Linked DNA regions of Homo sapiens: region 1 is linked to region 2. The links are contacts of gene promoters, found by promoter capture Hi-C in human tissues and cell types (Jung and others, 2019). All regions are on one chromosome and are shown on one strand. Each heading gives the region's core, a stretch centred on a gene start or on the middle of the fragment in contact. The rest is flanking DNA. Distances are from core to core; before and after follow the strand shown. Region 1 holds the start of ESPNL (espin like). Region 2 overlaps LRRFIP1 (LRR binding FLII interacting protein 1).

Region 1 (5,222 bases), core at 1,831-4,330, 400 kb before region 2:
TCTTGCTCTATCGCCCAGGCTGGAGTGCAGTGGCACAATCCCAGCTTACTGCAACCTCCGCCTCCCAGACTCAAGTGATCCTCCCACCTCAGCCTCCTGAGTTGCTGGGACTACAGGCAGTCACCACCATGCCTGGCTAATTTTTAAATAAATTTTTTTGTAGAGATGGAGGTCTCGCTACATTGCCCAGGCCAGTCTTGAATTCCTGGGCTCAAGCAATCCTCCAGCCCCAGCCTCCCAAGATGCTGGGATTACAGGCATGAGCCACTGTGCTCGGCCCAAGTCTCCCAGTTTTCAATGGTGGAAACTTCTTTAAAAGCCGTGTGGGTCTGAGAGAGACTGTGGCCAGCCAAGGCTGAGGGTGGTGTGGACGCTCTGGAGAAAAGCCACAGAAGCGAATCCCAAAGGCCTTTGCCAAGCAGTCCAGGATGGGAACACCCGGGAATGAGAACCCGATTCCACAAGCAAGCTGTCGGGGCTTGTCCTGGAGCTAAGGGGGTGTGGGGGACTGAGGCCTCTGGGGCAGCGACAGGAAAATGAGATGCTGCCTCGAAAAGAGAAGAGCCGTGGTCAGAGGTAGGTGGGTCCCTGGGGGACAGGAAGGTTCGCCCTCAGCCAAGACAGTAGGAGGCAGAGGGCCTGTTCCTATGACAACAGTGACCTTTGTAAGCAGGGCGAGGACTGGAGGAGCTTCCAGGTGGGGAGGGAGGCCATCTGCCTTACTGGCTGTCCTGACCCTGGTCCTTCCTCGTTGCCCATCCACTAATTCCAGCAGGGGGCACAGGGCCCCAGAGACGATGAGGCCAGCGCCCGGCTCTAGGGGTCCCAGCACAGGGGTGGGGCAGTGCAGAGGCAGCTCCAGCCTCTGTGTCCCCAAGTCCACTAGACAGTCCCCACTCCTGTCAGGTGATGGGAGGGTGCCCTCACAGGTTGCCAGCTGCCCACGTCCCCAGCTGTTTTAGGTCCCGAGATGCCCCCAGGTGGGGCCAGAGCTGCCCTGGGCATCACAGCAGCATCTTGCCATCGTCACCGCCCCCAGCCACTCTCCAAGCTGAAGCACTGGCCTGTGTCCCCTTGGGCCCTGGCATGGCACTGCCACTGCCTGGCCTGTGGGTAGAGGCCTCATTGCCCTTGGCTCCTGCCAGCTCACCCCCACAGTGACAGCATGCCCGCCTGCAGGATTCACCTCAAAGGCCACCAGCCTGTCCTCTTGGCCCTCCATGGTGCAGCCTCCCCTTGGCCAGCTCGCCCCAGGCTGCCCCCCCAGGCGGGACTTTGGGCTCCTTACCTGCCATGCGCGGCTGTCAGGAGCTTGAGGCAGGTCAGGTCCCCACTGACGGCAGCGTGGTGCAGCGGCCGGGCTCCCTCCCGGGTCTCTAGCGTGGCCGAGTGGCCCTCGTGGAGCAGCCACTCCACCAGCACTGGGTGTCCAAAACGGGCGGCCAGGTGCAGCGGGGAGACGCCCGAGGCATCTTGGTCCTACCAAGCCCCGGGTAGGTCAGTGAGTGGGGGGTAGGCCGTGAGGTCAGAGCCAGCTGCCGGAGGTGGGCCCTGGGCGAGGGCTCACACTGCCTGCAACCCAGTGAAGGGGCTTCCAGCTCCTTCCTCCTTCCCTCCGTTTCTGCCTGCAACATGGAGGGAGGTGCTCCCTGCTGGGACTGAGGTGAGAGGAGGGCCAGGACTCAGGTCCAGGTCTTGGGAGGCCACCTCTGGCAACCCTGCCCTCTCCTGGGCCCGTCCCCAGTGTGGAGAAGGCCCTTTCCCACGCAGTCGGGTGCCCGCAGACACCTGCCCACTCTGCTCATGGTCAGAAAGGCTTCCCAGGACACCTACCTCTGGCTGGTCCCCTGCCCCAGTGCCCTCCCGCTGGCCACAGGGTCCCGGGGCCAGGGAGCGTTCCTACCACAGGTGTCAGGGGTCCAGCAGACCTGGGCCTTCTCCAAGGGCCCTGTCAGAATGGATCCCCAGGCAGGCACAGCTCCCGCCTGCTGCCCTTGGGTTTGGCGGAAGGGCCGACAGGAACAGGATGCTGGGCCGGGACTCTCAGGTGCTCTGGCGAGCCAGGTGCTGGGGAACCTTCCCGCTCCGCAGTCTAAGCAGGCCCCACCGGCCCCCACCTCAACTCTGACCTCTGGGCGGCGGCGTTCTAAGGCCGGTCAGTCCTGCTCACCCTCAGCCCTGAAAGCTCCACAGGGCTGAGCGACAGCTCTAAGGGCCTCGCCTGCACAAAGGGGACTGGGCAGGCAGGATAGGGGAGGGGGGCCCAGTAGAAACGATCCGGACAAGACGATCACCATCAGCAGCCCTAACTCCCGTCCCCCAGGGCTAGGCTCCCAGCTCTCAAGCCCAAGTTCCCACAGTGCTTCTGTAAGGATCCCTTTCTAGACCCTTTGGGAGGCAGGCCCTGTGGACCAGGCCTGATCAGAGACAGGGGTCCTGATATCTGGCAAGACCCCCACTGGCAACGCCCAGCTTCCTGGCAGGGAAGGTGATAAGAAAATTTAGGAGGTGTTCTTGGCTCTCAAGCCTTTGTGCTCTGAGAGGCGTGGGGCAGAGACGGTAACCACTGACTGAGTCCCCAAGAGAAACAAAGGGCCCAGGGCCATGGAGCCCGGGGTGGCCAGTACTCTGATCCTCCGTGGCTCACACCTCCCTGGTTCCACCCCAGCCAGCTTCGTGGAGCCAGGCTGCCCCATCCCCGCTCACCTGCAGACCGCAGCCCCCCTCGCGGACCAGCCAGCACAGCTCGGCCAGGCTGCCCGTGGCAGCGGCGTCATGCGCTGGGGTGGCCCCGTTGTGGGCCCGCTGGTTGCCGGGCAGCTGGGCCCGCTGCACCAAGAACTTGACGCAGTCCAGGTGGCCAGCCCGGGTGGCGTGGTGAACCAGGCCGGCCCCCAGAGCATCGGTGATGCCCGGGCCCAGGGCGCCAGCCTCCAGCAGCCGCTCCAACGTCGCCACATCCCCATCCTTGGCGGCCACGAGTGCCCGCTGCTTCTCCATCCTCTGGCCCGGGCTCTCAGTGGCGACTCATGCACAGGCTGGGGCTTCCTGTTTCAGACGTGGATGAAGCTGCCGGCTCTGGTTACCCGATAAGCTGCCACAGGGCAGATGGGAGGCGGTGGGGTGGGGTCGGGTGGGGGGACAGGCCTTGAGGACCTGCCCAAGCCACTCCCACAGTGTGAGGGTGCCAGGTGCCTGGAGCTGGGAGGATGGAGTACAGGGCACAGGGAAAGGCCCACACCAGGCTAGGTCAGGGCTGGGTATGGCCAGCAGAGAAAGGAGGCTGGCCCTGAGGCTGCTCAGATCTGTCCAGATGGCAGGAACTTCATCTGTGGAGCGAGGGCTGAGGATACACGCCACTGAGCTTCTCACAGGAGCCCCGAGTGGCCTGGGAGACAGTTCCCCCAACTCTCACAGAAGGGCAGACCCCCAGCCGCCACCACAGTGTGTCTGAAGTAAAGGGTGCCCAGTAGGTCTACATGTTTGGCTGTGTTGACACCCACAGAGCTGAGCGCCCCGCCTCTGGGTCCCGGCCCTCGGCCCTGGAGGCTCCTAGGAATCTCTGGGGACACAGTGGCTCCACGGGGCCTGCAATGGGCTCAGGACCCTGACTTGGGTGTGTCCAGGCCTCTGAGGCGAGAAGGTGTCAGCCCCTGCCTCGGCCCCCTCTCCAACTACACGGACCAAGTCTCTGGGCTGCAGCCCCAAGGGCCCAAGTACATTTAACCCCTTTCCAGATTGTTCTGGACAATCCATAGTTCTTCTTTAGGGAAGTCAGGACCACCACAGCCTCTTCCTGGCAGCAATGGGAAGCTGCAGATGGGGGACCCATTACATTTGTAGGGGCTTCCGGAGACACAGCCTCAAGCTGGATTTCTGGGCTAACGCATCATCACACAATGGTGACCTGGGGGCTGCTGCACCCCTGGCTTCCCCCCGACAGGCTCTGTCAGATGACTTTGTGCCCAAGCGCAGTGCCCACTAGAGAAACCACAGGATCCCCAAGTCGGGCACTGAAATCTTTTATTCGTTAATTTAGTTTCTGGCAAGTGTTTCCTCAAAATCATCAAGTAGTTCCTTGAACCGTAAAACCACACATTAAAAATGTTATTCCACTGAAAATGACTCCTATGCAAATATCGACATGTGATGTGTGTCCAAATGCCAGAGCATTTTGAGAAAAGAATCCTCTGCAAATAAAATTAAGGTAAAAGCTGAGTCAGGGATGATCCGATTCCCACCCCAGGAATGACCTGGAGCTGCACCAACTCAGCGAGGTTGGAGCTGAAACCCTGAGTTAATAATGATCAAAAGGGACAAGACAGGAAGGCCTGGGGACCGTGGACAGGGAAGTGCGCAGCCCTGATTGCCAGTGGGCGGAACAGGGTCAGGCTCGGGGAAGCAGGAGGGGTGGTGGGCGGTGGGCGCTGAGCAGAGCAGGCCTGGCCGAGGCTGGGGGCCACTGTGCACTGAGGCCAGAGGAGCAGGGTGGTGGGGGCAGCTTTGGAAAGGGACTAAAAAGGGCCTGAGAAGAGACCACTCTGGAAAGGTGCATGTAGAGGCCATGATCAAAACAAAAAAATCAAGTTTCCTACGTTCATGATAGCATTTGGCTGACAATGAGTTATAAATACTTGGATTCTATCTTCCAGATAAAAACACCTTCCAGGAAAGGGCACTCACAACAGGCGTGCCCAGTTCCCAGTGGGGAGGGTGGATAAAGCTAAGTGTTTCCGCTTCACCACTGGAGGACGGTTCTATGTGGGCGGTCCCATGTGGGCGGTCCCATGTGGGCGGTCCCATGTGGGCGGTCCTATGTGGGCGGTCCTATGTGGGCGGTCCCATGTGGGCAGTCCTATGCGGCGTTGGTGTCCTGGGCCCTGTGAGCTCTGCAGGGGTCCAGGGAAGGAAACTGGGGGTGCACACTCGCTGGCACTCCAGGACAAAATGCAGAGGGGGCATGAGACAGTCATCCTGGCACAGCCCTCAGGAGGGAACTGGAGGGACAACCCTGTGCCCTGCCACGGGCTTCCCAGAAGCGGGGTGGGGAAGGCGGCCCCAGTGCTAGGCCTGGTCCTCCAGCTGCGCCACGGCCTGCTTCAGGTCCTGCACGACGAGGTCCACCTCGGCCCTGGTGGTGCTGCGGCCCACGCTGAGCCGGAGCGCGTTCCTGGCCACGTCGAAGGGGACACCGTAGCTCAGCAGCACTGGGGACGGCCTGG
Region 2 (4,734 bases), core at 2,229-4,728:
GCCAGGAGCCTGTTAGCGCATATTAGGGACACCCAGTGGGCCAATGGACAGAGGACTGGACCATGAACAGCAGCTCTCCTCAGATGTCAGATGGAAATGACGCCCCACGGGGCTGTTCAGGGAGAGAAGCCGTTTGCCAGCTGTAAAGCACTCTGCAAACAGGAGGAAGTTCTCCTATTAATTACACACATTCATTTTCGCCTCCAGGTTTTAGCGTCAAGCAGAGAAGTGAAAAAGCAGCAGCATTATTTTTCTAGGCCCCATGATACATCACCAGTCTAGTTTATAACCTTTTTGGAAAAGTGTTAAGGATGTAATTCAAGTTCACTCACGTGAATGTGACAGGAATATGATGCAGCCGAAGCCTGAAGTGGCCACAAAGGCCAGTTTGTTCACAGACAAGCAGGGGCCTCGGTCCTTGTGCGATTCTTCCCCTGAGCTAAGAAGGAATCAAGCTCCTGGAGGGGCCGTGGTGTACCCAGGCTGTGACACGGGATCCCTTTCCTGAGCCACTTTGCTATAGGAAGTAGCCACAGCCACCAACTTTTGTTTTCTCTGCAAACCCCCCAACCCTCAGATGCAGTGGCCTCTAAAGTTTGCTATTCACAGCAACCAAGTGGGCCGGGTGATGTTCTCCTGCACAGACGTGGACAAGAACGGACGGCACAAGGCTAGCACCTCCGCAACGCAAGGGAGGCTCACCTCGGTTCCGTGTACCCACCACCCCATGTCCCCCAGAGGCGATGTGCACTGTATCTCAGTTCCAAAAGAAATGCTCATGTGGGCAATCTCACGAAGTCCCCCAGGAACCACAAAGAGCCTTCCCTACGGCCATGACTGTGAGAACGATCGTTACCAGGCACAGGGCACTCTGGGGTGGCAGCTGGCAGTGGCGGAAGTGTTGACTTAGAGGGCATTTTGGAAATGTTGGGGGGACTGGGATGTCAAAAAGATTGGGAAGAAGCTAAGGGTATTGGGGCGGGGGGGCAGGGCCAGGTCGGCCAACCATCCCGCATTCAGACACGCCTGCGATGGGAAGAACTTTTCCCTTGACTGCTCAGGAAGATAGAAAAACCACTGTTTTGGCCGGGTGCGGTGGCTCACGCCTGTAATCCCAGCACTTTGGGAGGCCGAGGCAGGCGGATCATCTGAGGTCAGGAGTTCAAGACCAGTCTGACCAACATAGTGAAATCCCATCTCTACTAAAAATACAAAATTAGCCGGGCATGGTGGCGCATGCCTATAATCCCAGCTACTCAGGAGGCTGAGGCAGGAGAATCACTTGAACCCGGGAGGCGGAGGTTGTAGTGAGCCGAGATCTCACCATTGCACTCCAGCCTGGGCGACAGAGCGAAATTCCATCTCAAAAAAAAAGAAAAAAAAAAAAAAGAAAAGAAAAACCACTATTTTTAATTTTTGGATTTACAAACTGATTGCAACTTACATATAAACTCAAAATATGTTTTACACAGTTCAAATATACATGAACTATTCCAGGAATGCAATCGACATGGAAATTGAAGGAAGATGATGATACTTGGCTTTGTTCAGAACTTTCCTGAGAGTTAGTCAACTTTGTAGAATGTCACGTCATAGACAGCAACATGAGGGGTGGTGTGTGGGTCTCAGTGCAACACACCTGTGTCAGCCTCCCTGTGACGCCAGGCACAGGTGTGTGCAGGTCTCATCACTGCATTCAACTGCTGGTGTACTTGGTCTTGAGTATTTCTATATCAAAATTCTTATTATGTTACTATAAACTACCTGTATTTTATTTTTTAAGGAAATGTTATATTGACTCGAAATTATGTGCGCTGGTTGACTTTCTCACCTATGCATTTCATTTCAGGCTAGTAAGGAAGTTAAGGAACTTGTAAAAAGACAGGGTTGAGAACCACAGCTTCAGAACTCCAGTGTGGATCTCTCGTCTCTCCATCACACTGTATGAACCAGCCCCGGCACAATTCAGAGCACAGGTCTGGGTGCCTGGTGCTCAGGCCATCATGAAGATTTGGATGGCATAAAGTTAGAGATCAAAGCCTAACTGATTACTTAAAACACTATGTTTCCATCAAAATTAACTCAGACAAATTATGGAGTAGACTGAAATTACCATGAAAGTTTACGGTAAGACGGCCACCTTCAAAGAAGGCTTTAGCTTACAAGGCTGCTCCTGGCCGGGCCCACAGGCCCCAGGAGCCAGCACACTGTCCTCTGCACTCGGGGGACCTGGCAGACAAGTCCAAGAAATGCTGGGTGCCGACTGCTTCTCTCAGCTATGGCTGCACTGTTCTCAGTAAAGGTCTGAGTTTATGCAGGTGCAGACTGTCAAGAAAGGAGTCTGAAGACCCAGCCACAGCCTCCAGCTTGGGCTCTGTCACCTACAGTTATGTGAGCCTGGATAAGTTACTCGGTTTTTGAACCCCAGCCCTCATTAAAGAAGTAGGAGGGGACGTAATCTTTAAGAGCTTCCTTCCCCTCTGAAATTCTTTGGGTTCATGCCAGAGGTGAATTATTTGTACACTGAGATTGTCCACAGACTGTGTCTGTTTTGCTACTGGAAATCTCCAGGCTTTGCTTTTCAGAATAATAAGCTTCTTTAAAGTCCTTCGCATCCTAAAATAGCAAACGTATTAATCGGGAACAAAATGATTGATGTTACTTTATTGATGACTCACACATTGACCTATTCAAACCTCACAACACAATCTTGGGCTTAGCAGCTACTCCCACTGGCGCTAAGAAATAAATACGCTATACAGTATCTTCCATGCAAGTGAACTTCTACTCTTGCTGTTAATACATTTCTTGCTTTTCCTGAGATGAATGAATCTTCATATTTCCTTCAATTGCCTCAACATGATGGAAATACAAGAACCATGACTACCACTAACAGAGACGTGCGGGACTGAGAGGCGAGGGCGGCTGGGCCTCCCCTGTGCCGTTTCCTCTCCAGGTGACAGGTTTCCCTCCAGGCAGCACGTCTGGGCTCCACTCCCTTCACCTTTGCCTGCTCTGCTCAAGACTGTCCTACAAACCCCAGACCTCTAGGGTTTCACAAAAACATTTAAATTGTTTCCTCTGAGAAGAAGGCTGAAAGCTCCACCAGCACCAGGGCAGCACACAGCAACTGACAATCTTTCCTATATTCAGTGGATATTCCCTGGAACCAGCTATAAAAGAAACAGCAGCTGTCATGTTTATCCTCCATGAACTTATCTACTTGGATGAGGTAGGGGAGGAGTTACATCATACCCAGAAAAATAAAAAGGCTTAAATCACAGCAGCTCTCAGGTGTATGCCGACATAAGCAGTAGTTAACATTTTAGCATGGTACAAAAATAGCAAAACAAGTTTCACAGCTATTTCATTTCTACCATTATTTTCCTTATGTAGAAAAGTAAAGCTCATTGGGCCGGGTGTGGTGGCTCATGCCTGTAATCCCAGCACTTTGGGAGGCCGAGATGGGAGGATCACTTGAGGTCAGGAGTTTGAGACCACCCCGGCCAATGTGGTGAAACCCCATCTCTACTAAAAATACAAAAATTAGCCGGGTGAGGTGGCAGGCACCTGTAGTCCCAGCTGCTTCAGAGGTCTGAGGCAGGAGAATCGGTTGCACCTGGGAAACGGAGGTTGCAGTGAGCTGAGATTGTGCCATTGCATTCCAGCCTGGGCAATCAAGCACGACTGTCTCAATAAAAAAAAAGAAGGAAAGTAAGTTCGTTCTTTGAATGTTCTCTTCTGTCTGGAAATTACCAGGCAGAGAACAGAAAAGTTTGACAGAGTGAAGACTTCCCAGTATGCATTCAAGACAAGGACTTCTGTCCTAAGAGGCAGCTTTGGTAAAAAGAAATCCTTCAGCCCCAATACTGGGGTATGAGACAGCAGGGCTGCCAAGAAAAGCTGACAACAGCGACAAAAGCAGCAGCAGCAGCCGTGGCAGCCACAGCTATATCTTGCACATTTACTACCTGCCAGCCCCTGCCTGCAGCATTGCATACAGTGGTGACAGTTATCAGTACCAGTTCCGAGTCAGCAGGCCTGGGTCTGAACTGGCTCCACTGCTGACTAGCTGTGAGGGCTTGGAAAGTCCCTGACCTTTCTGAGCCTCAGTTTCCTCTTTATCTGAAAAACTGAGAGAAAACGATCTGCTCCCCATGAGGTTACAGCAAGGGTTAGAGAAGACCTTCACATAAAACACCAGGTGGGCGCAGCAGGGGTTTGGTAAATATTAGCTACTTTCACTACTTAGTGTCTTCTTTGACAGCTACTGACCTAAGAGTATAAATCCGGTTCAGAGAAGTTTAGAAGCACGATGAGAAGACAAGCATGCTAAGGCACCCACCTAGCAGAGAAGCAGGAAAAACTGGGGAAACTTCAGAGGAGGGGGACAGAGGTTCTCAACCCACAGGGAAAGCCCACTCCTTTCCCTAGGAAAATCACACAGCCACGTGCCACATACAGTAAAAAAGACAGAAGGATCACAGGTGGCGTTGCTTTGATCATCTTCATTACACAAATAAATGAAACATTTTGGTTAAAATTAAGAGTAAATCTTCATTATAGTGATTTAAGATAAATTACTTCTCTACTACAAAGTAGTTATACTTTAGATTCAAGGGAAAACTACTTACCTAGTTTTAAAGTTGTAAAGTTACAATCCCAAGGAGAAACCACTGGAAACACTGGCCCTTTCCAAAATGAATGAATGAGTCTCGGAATACATATAATTTC

What was found. The method cuts DNA at HindIII sites, captures the fragments that hold promoters and counts their contacts. A contact is called where the count stands out against the background at its distance.
Region 1: the fragment with the promoter of ESPNL here is called in contact with a fragment that was not itself captured in region 2 in 1 of the 25 tissues and cell types used here (H1 embryonic stem cells).

What each region holds. Positions count from the first base shown.
Region 1 is chr2:238,098,198-238,103,419 of GRCh38, reverse strand. It overlaps ESPNL (espin like), which reads right to left and starts at 3,080. Exons shown (of 9, transcript NM_194312.4): 1 at 2,707-3,080; 2 at 1,289-1,479. The coding sequence starts at 3,000. SCLY (selenocysteine lyase) reads right to left here. Exons shown (of 12, transcript NM_016510.7): 12 at 4,007-5,218. The coding sequence ends at 5,065. UBE2F-SCLY (UBE2F-SCLY readthrough (NMD candidate)) reads right to left here. Exons shown (of 19, transcript NR_037904.1): 19 at 4,007-5,218. RefSeq lists enhancers at 703-872, 4,638-4,932, 4,567-5,222. The HindIII fragment of the contact is 18,069 bases long and covers 1-5,222 here.
Region 2 is chr2:237,696,002-237,700,735 of GRCh38, reverse strand. All of the region lies in intron 1 of LRRFIP1 (LRR binding FLII interacting protein 1), which reads right to left. Among named protein-coding and RNA genes, the nearest start is that of LRRFIP1, 71 kb to the right of the region's middle. RefSeq lists enhancers at 227-276, 287-336, 3,443-3,652 and a silencer at 2,330-2,379. The HindIII fragment of the contact is 4,703 bases long and covers 1,127-4,734 here.